4 separate regions of the Homo sapiens genome follow, and all the other regions are linked to region 1. Evidence: promoter capture Hi-C in 16 types of primary human blood cells and fetal thymus (Javierre and others, 2016). All regions are on one chromosome and are shown on one strand. Each heading gives the region's core, a stretch centred on a gene start or on the middle of the fragment in contact. The rest is flanking DNA. Distances are from core to core; before and after follow the strand shown.

The links. Contacts are between HindIII fragments. The CHiCAGO score rates a contact against its expected background, and 5 or more counts as called.
Region 2: a contact is called between a fragment that was not itself captured here and the fragment with the promoter of CSTF2T in region 1, in 6 of 17 cell types (non-activated CD4 T cells, naive CD4 T cells, total CD4 T cells and 3 more). The highest score is 9.5, in non-activated CD4 T cells.
Region 3: a contact is called between a fragment that was not itself captured here and the fragment with the promoter of CSTF2T in region 1, in 5 of 17 cell types (naive CD8 T cells, activated CD4 T cells, non-activated CD4 T cells and 2 more). The highest score is 9.6, in naive CD8 T cells.
Region 4: a contact is called between a fragment that was not itself captured here and the fragment with the promoter of CSTF2T in region 1, in 1 of 17 cell types (fetal thymus). The highest score is 5.8, in fetal thymus.

Annotation. Positions count from the first base shown.
Region 1 is chr10:51,698,333-51,701,373 of GRCh38, forward strand. CSTF2T (cleavage stimulation factor subunit 2 tau variant) reads right to left here and starts at 1,263. Exons shown (of 1, transcript NM_015235.3): 1 at 1-1,263. The coding sequence starts at 1,217. The region is part of intron 3 of PRKG1 (protein kinase cGMP-dependent 1); the gene reads left to right. RefSeq lists enhancers at 951-1,530, 1,655-2,343 and a silencer at 2,097-2,391. The HindIII fragment of the contact is 5,025 bases long and covers 1-2,275 here.
Region 2 is chr10:50,632,874-50,636,293 of GRCh38, forward strand. No RefSeq gene overlaps it. Among named protein-coding and RNA genes, the nearest start is that of SGMS1-AS1, 9.6 kb to the left of the region's middle. The HindIII fragment of the contact is 4,046 bases long and covers 1-3,420 here.
Region 3 is chr10:50,611,702-50,614,986 of GRCh38, forward strand. The region is part of intron 1 of SGMS1 (sphingomyelin synthase 1); the gene reads right to left. Among named protein-coding and RNA genes, the nearest start is that of SGMS1, 11 kb to the right of the region's middle. RefSeq lists a silencer at 2,976-3,105. The HindIII fragment of the contact is 1,703 bases long and covers 491-2,193 here.
Region 4 is chr10:52,778,742-52,781,785 of GRCh38, forward strand. LOC105378306 (a long non-coding RNA gene) reads left to right here and starts at 417. Exons shown (of 4, transcript XR_945963.2): 1 at 417-802. The HindIII fragment of the contact is 3,116 bases long and covers 171-3,044 here.

The DNA of each region.
Region 1 (3,041 bases), core at 13-2,512:
GGTAGACCCCTTTGATCTATCATGGGGCCTCTGGGCTCTCCAATTAGCAGTCTGGGATCTCCTAATGGCCCTCCCCTCATCTCATGTGAGGAAGGGCCACGAGTGTCATGACCAGAGGCATGATGCATGGGGGGACCCTGATGGGGTGGACCCAGATAACCTCTGGGCTCCACTTCTCCAGTGACTGAAAGCAAAGTCCCTCCACGTGGGTCATTTGGAGCATCTCCTAACAGTCCTCGAGGAGGCAGACCACCAGGAGTCACGGGTCCGCGAGGTATAGGAGCTCTAGGATCTGACATCTGCACTTGTCCCCGCTCTAAAGGCACTGGGCCAACCCCTGGCATTCCAAGTTGGGGCTGCATTGCTCCTCCAGGAGTTAAGGAACCAGGACCAGCTCCGGGAACTGCAGCTGGTATTGGCCCTGGAGCTGGAATTCCACCCTGGATAGGAGTCTGCATCAGAGGAGGAATGTCCTTCACAGGTCTTCTAGCCAAATGCTGAGGCTGAGGAGCTGGAGGATTCTGCTGGTTCAGCAGAACATTAGGTCCTGGGCAGAGCCCAGGGCCAGGGCCAGGGCCAGGGCCAGAGACAGACACAGACTGAGATTTGCCTGGGATCAGTGGTGTGACATGTATCTTCCGATGCAGAATTTTCAGAGCAATCTCTGGATCCATGATTCTCATCACTACTTGTGCCTGCAACAGTGCATAAGCCAGTTGTGGATTTTGAAGTAACATGTTTCGAGCTTCCTGGTGGCTGTTTTGGACACAGAGCTTCATCTGCTTCATCAGCTCAAACATCTGCTCCGGGGGGAGACTGGCTACTGCTCTGGTAATCGATTCAGGGGCATCTTCTGGATCGATGGGATCCCCATAGGGTGAGTCAATAATGGGCGCTGCAGGCCCAAGGCTCTTTAACTCCTCCTTATTCTTTTCACTGGCAGCATTGTCCACCCGAAGCGCTCTCCCACTGAACTCCCGCCCATTGAGGTTCCGCATGGCACTAAGCGCGGTCTCCTGGTCTTGGTATTCGCAGAAGCCATAGCCCTTGGGTTTTCCCGTCTCTCTATCGTATACCAGCCGGAAACTGACAACAGAACCAACCTCCGAGAAAATGTCCTTTAACTGCTCCTCAGTTGCCTCATATGGAATGTTCCCCACGAACACGGAACGCAGTGATCGATCCATTGCCGGGTCTCTCACCGCCAAACTCGACATGATTCCGGTTGTGCAGACAGCCGATAGCGGATTCTTCGAGGCGTCTGTCCTCTTGCGACCGACACTTCCGCTGAGCAACGGAAGCGGCTTTCAAGATCCGGGCAGAAACTTTACTAATTCGCTTGAATCGTTCCGCTTGCCTGTGGAACCTGCATCCCACTAACAACTTATCTAATGCTTTCAGTCCCTGATCCTTCATGGTTCTGTCAGCTTCTTATTACAGAGTCGCATGATTCCTTTCCCATTTCACGTTCCGCTGACTTTCTGTGGGGCCCCAACAGCCCCACTACGACACGCTTGGTACGAGATGACCACAGTAAAGATGGCCGCATAGACTTCACCGTAGTAACTGGGAGGGGACTCTTCCCTTGACGTCAAAGGCGGTTTTGCTTCCGTTCCGCTGGCGGGAAACCGCCAACCGAAAGCGGATTTAAGGCGGCGTGTTTTTCGTTCTGACAAAGTATTTTCATGTGGCCTTTTATTATAGTATAGTTAAGCTAGATTTAAAATCACATTCCAGACTGAGGGAAAAGCGTAGTCGTTTCAGCACATTTGAGATTTGCCCCTTAAACTAAAACAGTATTATATCTCCTTTTTAGAACAACGTTTTTGGAAATTAACTGACAAGAAATATAAACTGAAGCGTGTGCCGGCTGGGCCCTGCCCCCATTCTGTTGCTTCCTATAACCGCTGTTAATGGATGGGTGGCAGACCCTTCTAGGTTTTTCCTGAGCACACGGGCAGCCGTCGTGCTATTCCTAATATTACGGTTTTCTTCCTTAATAACAACCGATTTCAATATTAATTGGTGATTAAATAAATTAGTGATTAATTAGTTATTAGTATTTTATGGCTTCAGAGTATGGAATAAAGAAATTTACTTAACTATCCCTACGTTGATTGGTTCTGATTTTTATTATATCATGCAGTGAGTCCACCACTTCCATGAAGGGAGAAACAAATAGCGGGTGTTTGTCTTCTGCTGTTAGCTTTGCAGGTAGGAGTTAAAACATATTCAGTGTGGTGTTTCCCCGCCTGCAATTCGAAGCTAGAACTGAAGCTTGGAGAGGGCTAGGTAAATTCCCAAGGACAAGCAGCTGGAAAGAGGCCAAGTCAGGATTCTAACCCAGCTTGGTCTCGCATAGCTCCAATTCTACACTGCCTTACGTGTATTGAATATATGAAATGAAGCTAGTGTGATTGAAGAAATGAATTTTAAATCTCATTTTTTATTTAAATATAAAAACTAATGTTCAGTAAGCTATTGGAAAACTTTTTTAGTATTTAGAACAACTTGGATATAGAATCTACTTTTGCAATAATAAATTGTGTTCTAAATAAAAATCATTTTGAAGAACACTAAGACAAAAAATAAAAACAAATAAAAAGAAAGTATTTCCAGTCAAAATTTAACATACTGGTTGAGGTGTGCCATACATGTAACATACATGAAAGATTTTAATGATCAAATACAAAAAAAGTAAAAATAGCCCATCAATTTTATATTTTTTATAAGTCGAAATGTAATATTTTTATATATTTGAGTAAAAAATTATTTTGAAGTTAATGTTATTCATTTCATTTTACTTTTTTAAATGTGGCTATTAGAAAATTTAAAATTATATGGATAGATTGCATTATACTTCTGTGGACTGGACTGCTCCAAGCCTGTGCTTTAATTCCAAAACAGAGAATTATTTTATTCTGAAATATGCCTCTTAAGTGGATTATGAAACTTTTAAATTTCAGCAAAAAAATTGTATTATGTATCTTCAGTATCCTATTCCAATGAATAGATTTGACATGAGTATGATGGTTTAGCTG
Region 2 (3,420 bases), core at 497-2,996, 1.1 Mb before region 1:
CCTCAGCTCTGTGGACATTTGGGCCAGATAATTCTTTGTTACCAGAGGCTGTCCTGTACATCATCAGGTGTTTAGCAGCATTCCTGGCCTCAACCAAATGGATGCCAGTAGCACCTCCCCCACCCACTTGTGACAGCCAAAGATATCTCCAGACATTGCCAAATGTCCCCTGTTATGGAGAATCATCCTCAGTTGAGAATCACTGGTTTAGGCAATGATCAAAGTGGGGCAACTAAATCAAAAGGCACTGCAATCTTAAGTTGATCAAGCATCCTTCTTTGAAATCACTCAGCACTTTCATATATTGCATTTATATCTTAGGTATTCATATTCTAACAATTCAGCCAATGTTTTTTGAGTTCGCAATGGACAAGGTACAAGATCAAGTAAGTAATTCTGTGTATCCATAAAACAGAAATGGATATGGTATGTCCCAGTTCTCCACAGTAGGCATTTATGTTATTCCCATCCCAATATTTAGCCCTGATCAGGGTTGTCAAACATTGCATGGGACATACTTATCCTAAAAAATTATTCATTATTTATCTGAAATTGAAATTTAACTGGATGTCCTATGTGTGTGCATGTGTATGTTTGTTTGTTTGTTTCTTTTTCTAAATCTGATTACCCTATCCTAACAGACTCAAGGTTTTTTCCCTGTTCCACAAACTTTATGACTTGACTTCATTAAAAATAATAAAGAGGAATAACTGCAAAGGCTTTAAAAATGCTGTTAGAATGAGTAGCACAACTGAATTTGAGGATACATTTTCTTTGAAGGATGTCTATTTTCCTACTGAAAATAGTGGCAAACTCCTTAGAACTCATTCAAAGCCTGATGGGATTCATTGCCTGATTTATTTAAAAACACTTCTGATGCTCACAGACTATTTATCATTTACACAGCAAATGATGTTCTTCTAGTATTCTTGTTGGGTGAGTTAGCATTGTGGAAGGACATAGAGGAGAATCAGACACAAACTTCTTATAACCTCATAAACAGGAAGAAAGGGAGCAGAAGCATAGACTGACTTTACTTTCACTCAGCTTACCTTCCTAGTTCTCCAGGTGTGGTCCTCAGAAGAGGAATATCATGTGACCTGGGAACTTGCTAGAAATGCACATCCTTGGGACCCACCCCGGACCTACTGAATCAGAAACTCTGAGAGTGGGTCCTAGCAACCAGTGTTTTCACAGGCCTTCCAGGTGATTCTTCCGCATGTTCGAGTTTGAGAACAACTGCTTTAGAGCCCTGGTTCTTGACCCTGGCTACAGGGTAAAACACCTGGGGAGTTTTTAAAATACTGATGCATGGGGTCCATTCCAAGGGAGTCTGATATAATTACTATGGGGTGCAGCCCAGGCGTAAACATTTTTTAAAAACTCCTCAACCAGAATAACGGCTCTACAGAAATTTTATCAAATGCCAAAGAAAGAGTTCCTTATTTTGCAACTATAGTGCTTTCTACTCTGGCCCTAATCAACTTTCATAAAGGCAGAATGGACAGACATTACGTGTTTTAATTTGAAGACTACCAAAAGGCCGGCCATTAAACTAGGTATATGGGCTCGTCCTCAAATCCCTAAATCTACTCCTTAGGACCTACTATAGCCAGTGTCATATAATAGAAAAGTCACTTATTGTCCACCAGACCCTGCCCTAATATTTGATAACCTCTTGGGGCCTCATTTTCTTGTGTCTACACTGGGGATGATATTAACTCTTCACAGGATTTGGGGAATTATAAAGAAAGACCATGTAGTAAAGGCAGGAAGATCAATAATCAATAATCACATCAGAACCTGAAGGGACTTCGTACCATTGAAGTGAGGCAGAGGAGAGAGAAATTTAGAAGGACAAATTCACAAATTTCAATGTGTTTCTATAATAACTACTTAAATTATTTTCTCTTTGAATTGCCTCACTGTTGTGTGTGTATGTCCCCACTCCCACCTGTCCCATTATTTTCCTGTTTTCACTTGTACCTTGGCAACCCATCTGTGGTTTTGGCCAAGCTGTTTTAATGGCATTGAACCTGGTAGTTTTTTTAAAAGAGTGTGGTAGTAGTTATATATGGCTCGATAACTCCTGGGGCTACAACAAGGTTAATGCGACAGTTTTTGTTGTTTAAAAAACATGCTTGTCTGACAAGTCAATCATTTTAAGCCCCTTGTTCACTTCAGGATGGTTGCTAAAGGCTTCTCTGTGAGCTAAAAGCTCTCGCTGTTAAGGGGCTGCCTGCCCTGACTGTATGCATTAAATGGAACAGTTCTCTACATGGTTTCTTACTACAGATGCCTTGGGATATATGGACACTGGCATTACCTGCTGCAACAGGTCCTCTCCCAGGGTACTGCTGAGACCTAAGGGCTTAAATGCTCACCAAACCAAGTGACCTTGGAGGGCTGGTCATGGTGGGCATCTGGGAGCTGGGAAAGAGCATTGGAGAACTTCATAGGGAAACCTAGTAGGCAAAAATGAAAGAACCCATAAGGGCCATTGGCATGAGCCATAGCTAAAGGCCACTGGGTTAGCTCTCAAAGAAAACTGCAAGATTGAAGCATAAATTCCTTCATCATGAACCAGAAGTCATGGAGTGGAGCCAGGGGCAAGAAAGAGAAAGATGAAGAGGTAGAACCACCAGGATAAAGGTGCCAAGAAAAACAGTGAGAGCAACACTCAGGGAACCAGAGACAGGAACACAGCTGGGAACTAGGAGGAGAAACCACCACAGCTGGAGCGCAAAGTGGCCAGGTCAGAAAAGCCTCATGGAATCCTGGTTAACTGAATGTTTCTATTGACTGAGGCCACTGCTTAAGCCCTGTATTCTTTTTTATTTCAATCCCCATGGTTAGAAAAATAGTCCTAAAATGGGTTCATACCCTTTCCTATCCTGCAAGATCTTAAACATCACTATCTTTTCCTGCAGTAGTTAAAAGCATGGGCTTTGGAATCAGAAACTGGGCACAAATCTGAGCCCTGCTACTTATTAACTGTGTAACATTGGTCAAATGAATAAACTTCCTGGAGCCTCAGTTTCCTTGCCTGTAAAATGTGAGTAACAATACCAACTTATTTTCAGGTTGTGAGCATTTCTCCATAATAATCCACATAAAACACTTACCAGAGCCCTTGGCATACTGTGTGAGCATGTAATAATGTTAGCTGTCATTCCAAGACAACATGTTGGAATAATCTACTTTTTCCATCACTATATATCTCATTTTCCTTCTTTTTCTTCTCCCTCAAACCTGTCCCCATTCCAACAGATGTTTTGGCCTGTGTTCCTAGCCTCCAGTGACAGCAGAAAGCCTGTTAGATTTCCTGCCTTTGTTTCCCAAAATTTGAGCCCCAAGAAACTGGGACAAGATATTTTCCTGAGACAAGATATCTCAGGAAGGGGAATGAGTGGAGCTTCT
Region 3 (3,285 bases), core at 92-2,591, 1.1 Mb before region 1:
GGCCTTTTCTCCAGCATCCCAAGCATCTCTGCTCTCCAGTCATCCTCCACCTGCCTGTGCACCTTCATCCCTGCCGCTGCCCCCTGCCTTTCCTCCACCCTTCCCTCTCCCCTCCTGGTTTCCTCAGGAGTAAAACATTCCTCTTCTCTGTTGGCCTCAGACACACTGGCACCCCCCATCCCCTTTTCCAACTCCTGCCTAAACTGTCAGCCTGTGTCTGTTAGGGGGAAAGAAGCTGTGGGCAAAGCCTGCCTTCCCACCCTATCTCCCTCCCAGTCCTGATTTCTCCTGCCTCTGCTGCTTTCACCCAGCCCCCTGCCAGTGGGGTGGGTACCACTTCAGCTAGCCCTCCCCACCACTTCCTTAGGAGATAGTTTTCTTGAGGTTTGTTCTCTACCATCCTGCCCCAGGGCTTTTTTCTTCAATCCCTCCATCTCCATCTGTGACTATTGGGAACTCCCTTCCAAATTTAAGCATCTTCCACCTGCCAAGCTTAGCTGAGGATCCTCCACCCCTTAACCTGAGATTTGTTATAACATCCCGTCTTCATGGATTCACATAGAATACCTGCATGAAACTTTTAGAAGACTGAACATCCACATTTTGCTCCCTTAATGGAGACAGCCTGCCAGAAGGAATATCCATTACAACCTGGGAAATGCAAACAGCTTATTGCTATTTCTATAAAGTGGTCTGGACATGAAATTAAATAGGACTGGGGAAGGTAGTGCTGAAATCAGCTTCTTTTGTTAATGAATAATAAGCAGCTGGCGAAAAGGAGGAGTGGAGGGGAGAAAAAAGAAAACAAGGAACTGGAACCACTGAAAACACAAATGAAAGGGGAATTTCACACTTAGCCAAAAATTCAGGGAAAATAAAATAAAACTTTGTTTTTAATAGAGTCTTTCTTTTAAAAGTTGATTTATCTTAAAGATAGAAAGTCGTTAATCTTCTCCAGGTTTTACATTCCTAGCAGACAGCTAACATTTAGCCACTTTGTTGTTTGTTGTTGTTGTTGTTGTTCTGAGACAGAGCCTCGCTCTGTCGCCCAGGCTGGAGTGCAGTGGCGTGATCGCGGCTCACTGCAGCCTCTGCTTCGTGGATTCAAGCAATTCTCCTGCCTCGGGCTCCTGAGTAGCTAGGATTACAGGCGTGCGCCTCCATGCCAGGCTAATTCTTGTATTTTTAGTAGAGATGGGGTTTCACCATGCTGGCCAGGCTGATCTCGAATTCCTGACCTCATAGCCACGTTTTTTAAAAACAAAGAAAGTAAACTCTTAAGTACTCTTGTAACTCCCCAAGTAGTTTTGAAGTGCAGTCCCAGCTCTGATTCTCCCTTTGGGGGCTGACCACTTATAGCACACATCTTCCTAGGCTTGTCTCTGCTGTCAGGATTATGTCACTAAAAATGAAAACCTCATGTGGCTTTCAACCCTAAAACAAAAGAAAATAAAAACCAAAAAAATGCCACTTCTGGCTCCATCTACACTGACCTATGGTATGGATTCCCTTCTGTGCACTCTGCTGACACAGGGAAACTGGGCAGGTGACCTCTGTCCAGTCATCCCACCCCTGACCCAGGGAGGCTAGGTGTGCAGCTTTGATACTGTACTCACTACTTGGTGATGACATCATCTGTGGACATGTCTGTCTCCCCACTAATCCCTCAAAGACCCAGACCCCATCGCACTCATCTCTGTATCTCAAAGCTCACCAGGGAAACTGGCCCATAGGGGATTTTCAACACATATTTACTGCCACTGTCAACCCTGAGTTATAAAATGACCAGACTGGAGAGTGTCTCCACACCTGAACAGGCCTCTCTAGCCTCTTCAGTCGGCCCCTGGCAATCCCCCCATCCTCTCTGCCCTGCCACATTCCCTCACCAAGCAAACGAGCTGTTACAGGCTGACAGGGTCACAGGAGAGTCCTGATAACTAGCACAGAGAAAAATCTAAACCAGTGTTCCTTCCCAAATACAACTTACTTGTATTGTTCACCTCCGAGTTCTTTCTAAATCCTGAGTTCCTACAAAATATTTAAATTATAAAAGGTTTTCGTCCCGAGGTTTTATATATGTAACATTCTTTCAAATAGGAAAAAGTGTAGCCTGGATTGCAAGACAGAAAACTTCTGCTATAATAATAACTATTCATACTTCTTGAGAGCTTAATGTGTGTAGGTGCTGTACTAAGCTTGGTACACATTGTAGCTATGTGACCTCGTGGCAGCTGGAGGAAAGCTGTACAAAGCTCTTTTTTCCTACAAACACAGTTTTCTGCTATAATTAAACTAGGCAAATAAGATTATCTTCTGCCTCTCCACTGTCAGGTTATGTATCTCAATATACTTTTAATTTGTCTGTGCCTAAATTCCTCCATGGGGATAAGTGGTGAACAGGAAGTCTTTCTTTTTTTTTTTTTGCCAATGGAAGGGGGAATGAAAAATAACAAAAATAAATGAGGCCATCTTCCTAAGATGGGATGTAATGATGGCACTCCAAGCTTCTAATGAGTGCTGACTTATATTTCCAAGTTTTCTCTCCACCTTGGGATCATCTCTCCTGAGCCATGCCAGAACCACTGGTGAGCAGGAAAAGCAAGTTTCTGCTCTGGACTGGCTCAGACACCCCTCTGCTGTCCTAGATAAACAGGACCACATGAGTTCAGTTTTTATTTCATGAGGCGGAAGGCACTTCCAATGTCTAAATCTGAAATCATCCCACCTGACTGTAACTAGAAGTAGTAGCAGCTGGCTCCTCGCTGACATGGGCACTGCTGATGGCAGTGGTTGGCAAAGAGTGGTCCCCAGACCAGCAGCATGACAGTATCCAGGAACACATTAGACATGTCAACTGCCCACTGCCACCTGCCCCAAGCTCTTTGCCTCAGAAACTCTGGCAGAGGTGGGTCCCAGCCCTGGGCGTTGTAAGCAGCCTTCGAGTGATTCTGATACACGCTGAAATCTGAGAGCCACTGGCTTCACCTGATAAACATCTGAGGTCATGGGAATGCCCTGCTGGGCTAACCTGTGTATTACAACGCTTTATGTAAAGGTACTGGCTCTCCACCAACAGTACCTACTTCTGTTATTTCTGCCACCTGGCAAAGGCCCCAAACACTAAACTCCAGGGCATTCTTTTTCCTACTTTCTTGGGCAAATTACTTCTGTCCCACTCTCTTTGTCCTCAAAAAAGGTATGATGACAATATCCATTTCATTGGGTCAAGGACTTAGAAAGTGGCTGGCATGCAGTTAGCCATCAACAAGTGTGAATCCCTGTGAT
Region 4 (3,044 bases), core at 479-2,978, 1.1 Mb after region 1:
TGGCGAGGCCAGGGCGCAACTGCAAGCCCCCGGATTCGCGGCCAGACTGCGCATTCCAACCGCGGTGCCCCCAGATGTTCCCACCCGCCAGGCCGACTCCCGAGGGGGCCTCCCGAAACTGCAGGAGCCCCCTTCTTCTTGCCATGTCTCTCTAGCGCCCTCTACTGAGAAGCTTTGCATCGTGCTCACTCGAAAAACGCTGAAAGGAATTCTGTGGTTTAATCACAGAGCATGTTTTGAAGGGTAAATTGGGAGCTGAGAGTCCTTTGATGCCTGGCACAGTAGGTGTGTCCGCATCGTCGTGCACACGGTAAGTCCACAGGCCCTGTGTGCTCCCTTTGTCTGCAGCTGTGACATCAAGGGTCCCTCCAGCCCGGCCTCGCGGCAAAGCTGAGCAGCAAAGGAAGGCAGAGGGGTGGGCCTTGCCGGCTTTGGGCCCAGAGGCTGGAGGCTGGGCTCCCTCTTTCTTCCCTTCCTCCTTTCCTCTTTCCCTCCTTCCTTTCTTCCTTGCTTCTCCCTCCTCCCCTCCCTGCCTCCCTCCTCCCATCTCTGTCTCCCTCTTCCCCTCCCTGCTTCCCTCCTCCCCACCTTCCCTCCCTCTTCCCCTCCTTCCCTCCCTCTTCCCCTCCTTCCCTCCCTCTTCCCCTCCTTCCCTCCCTCTTCCCCTCCTTCCCTCCCTCCTCAAGCACAACACATCCACATCGGCCCCCAGCCCAGCGCAGCTTTAAGAGACCCACTTACCTCAGAGGAACCCAATCAATCCCCACAAACACCTCTCTAGAATAGGAAGATGGAGATACAGGTGAGTCTGTCCTGGACAGAAAAGTAGAGACCCTGGAGGAGAGTGCGTTGAATTGATTGAGAGTGAACTGCCTATTGAATTGGAGGTGGGGGACGGTCGGGGAGGGTTAAGGGAGACCTTCTCTTCCAGAAGGGCCAAGGAAAGGCTGGTTCCACAGGGCTGGCTGGGCTACAGACCAGCTGCCTCTCCCCTCTGCATACAGTTGGGTACCCAGTCACCAGACCCCCCAAGTGAGGGGGTCAGGAAGGTGTCACGGACAGATGTACACATATCTCATTTTCATTCCACTCCATCCTGACCTGAGGGTTGTGACTTAGACAAGCGCCCTCATCTTGTTGAGCCTCAGTTATTCAGCTGTAAATGGGCGGAAGGAGAGCATTTAGTAATGGTAAATATGTAAGAGTGCTAATCGGGAAGCTCTACCCACTGAGAAAACAAGAAAAAAAATTCTTGGCGCTGAAAGAGGACCAAGAAGGATTGCTTTCTGAGATAGGTGCGGACAGACACACGCAGACCTAGAATAACGAGGTCAGACTCACCCAGGAATACTTGGCCCCAAGTTGACTCCCCTGTTTAAAGAGCGATAGAATGGTGGAGAGGGAGGATTGTCTTCTCAGGCGGCTCTGTATGGCCTCCAGGGGCCATGGTGAGGGATGGGGGTATCCTGGCCCTGAAGGCCCAGGGCACTTGAGGGAAGAACAAACTTTGCTGTGTCCCACAGGGAAAGTATGGGTCAGCCCTGCCATCTTGTGGCCATGCTTAGGACTGCAGGGGGCCAAGGGATACCCTGAGAGATCAGAGTACATTTCAAGGAGAAAGAAAAGCATTGCAAATGTTAGGTGTAGTAAAGATCTTGGCATTTGAAAGACTAAATCCAGACTCGGGTCTCTGGAACTTCCCAGGGTGCCAGGCATCTCGCAAATAGTAGTGCTGTCTCTCCTCTCCTCCCTTTCCAAGATGTGAGCTCTGGGCTGCAGATTCTGGGCCTGGATTCTGGTCTCCTCGTTCTGGGAGCTGCTCTCTGGGCTGACCCCAGGGCCTTGATCTAATTTTTTTCTTTGAAACTTGAGTTCTAAATTTGGGGTCTGGTCCCTGTCCTGACTGTCTAGCCTCAGTCCATCTATCTCTGGGCTTGGTTGTTTGAGATCATGGCTGAAGGTTAGGAGATCAGAGCTCCTGGTCTCTGCTCTGGTCTCTGAACTTAGACCTCGGGAATCAGGACACCAAGCCCTTGGTCATGGCTCATGCTACGTGGATGAACTCTGGGCTCCATTTGACTTTGTGGTCTCTACCCTCTGGATAGGCAGGAGTCTATGTTGTAAGCCCTGAACAACCAGTCACTGGATCTGCTCCAGGTCAGGTGGCTCTGGGGTCTGCTGGCTGGTGCTTCATTTGAGGCTACTCCTCCTCGAGGTTGTTGCTCTGGGCTGTGGGGTTAGGATTTTAGCCAGATTCTTCATGCCAGGCTGGAAACACAGGTAGCAGGTCTTGCATCTTGTAAAGGATAAAAGAGGCTCTTGCAGATACACAGGGAGCTGGGCCTGCCTGGACACTTCCTCCTCAGGAACTGCCCTAGGAAACATGGACCTGGCCAAAGATTTGTCCTGGGAGGATTGAGGGCCCACAGGCACATCCTGAAGAGATGCAGAAACTTGCCCATCCCTGATGTCTCAAGCCAGCCCAGATATAAACACAGAAATGGAGACAGACAACTTCAGACATTGGACTGTGAGATGAGGAGAGAGGGTCGGGCTCACTGTGGTCATCCTATCCTGTATCTTTCACACTGCCTGAAACATGGGACCACAGCAAACATTTGTTAATCAATAAAAGCAATGAGCTATGAGAGAAAAATTAGAAAGATGTAGAAGGACAAAGGGAGGGAGAAGGAACAGGCATTTGTTGACTAACTGATATGTGCTTCTGTGTGCTAGTTGCTTTATAGGTAATACCTCACTTAATTCACACAACGCCTTGAGTTGGTATACAGTATGTCATCTGTGTTGAGGTGACAAGGCCCTTCCCAGGTTCCACGATTCACTAGGAGGACTCCTGGGACTCAGCCTATAGTCATACCCATGGCTATAATTTATTTACTTATTTATTTATATGAGACGGAGTCTTACTCTATTGCCCAGGCTGGAGTGCAGTGGCACAATCATGGCTCACTGCAACCTCTGCCTCCCGGGTTCAAGCAGTTCTCATGCCTCAGCCTCGCAAATAGCTGGGATTACAGACATGT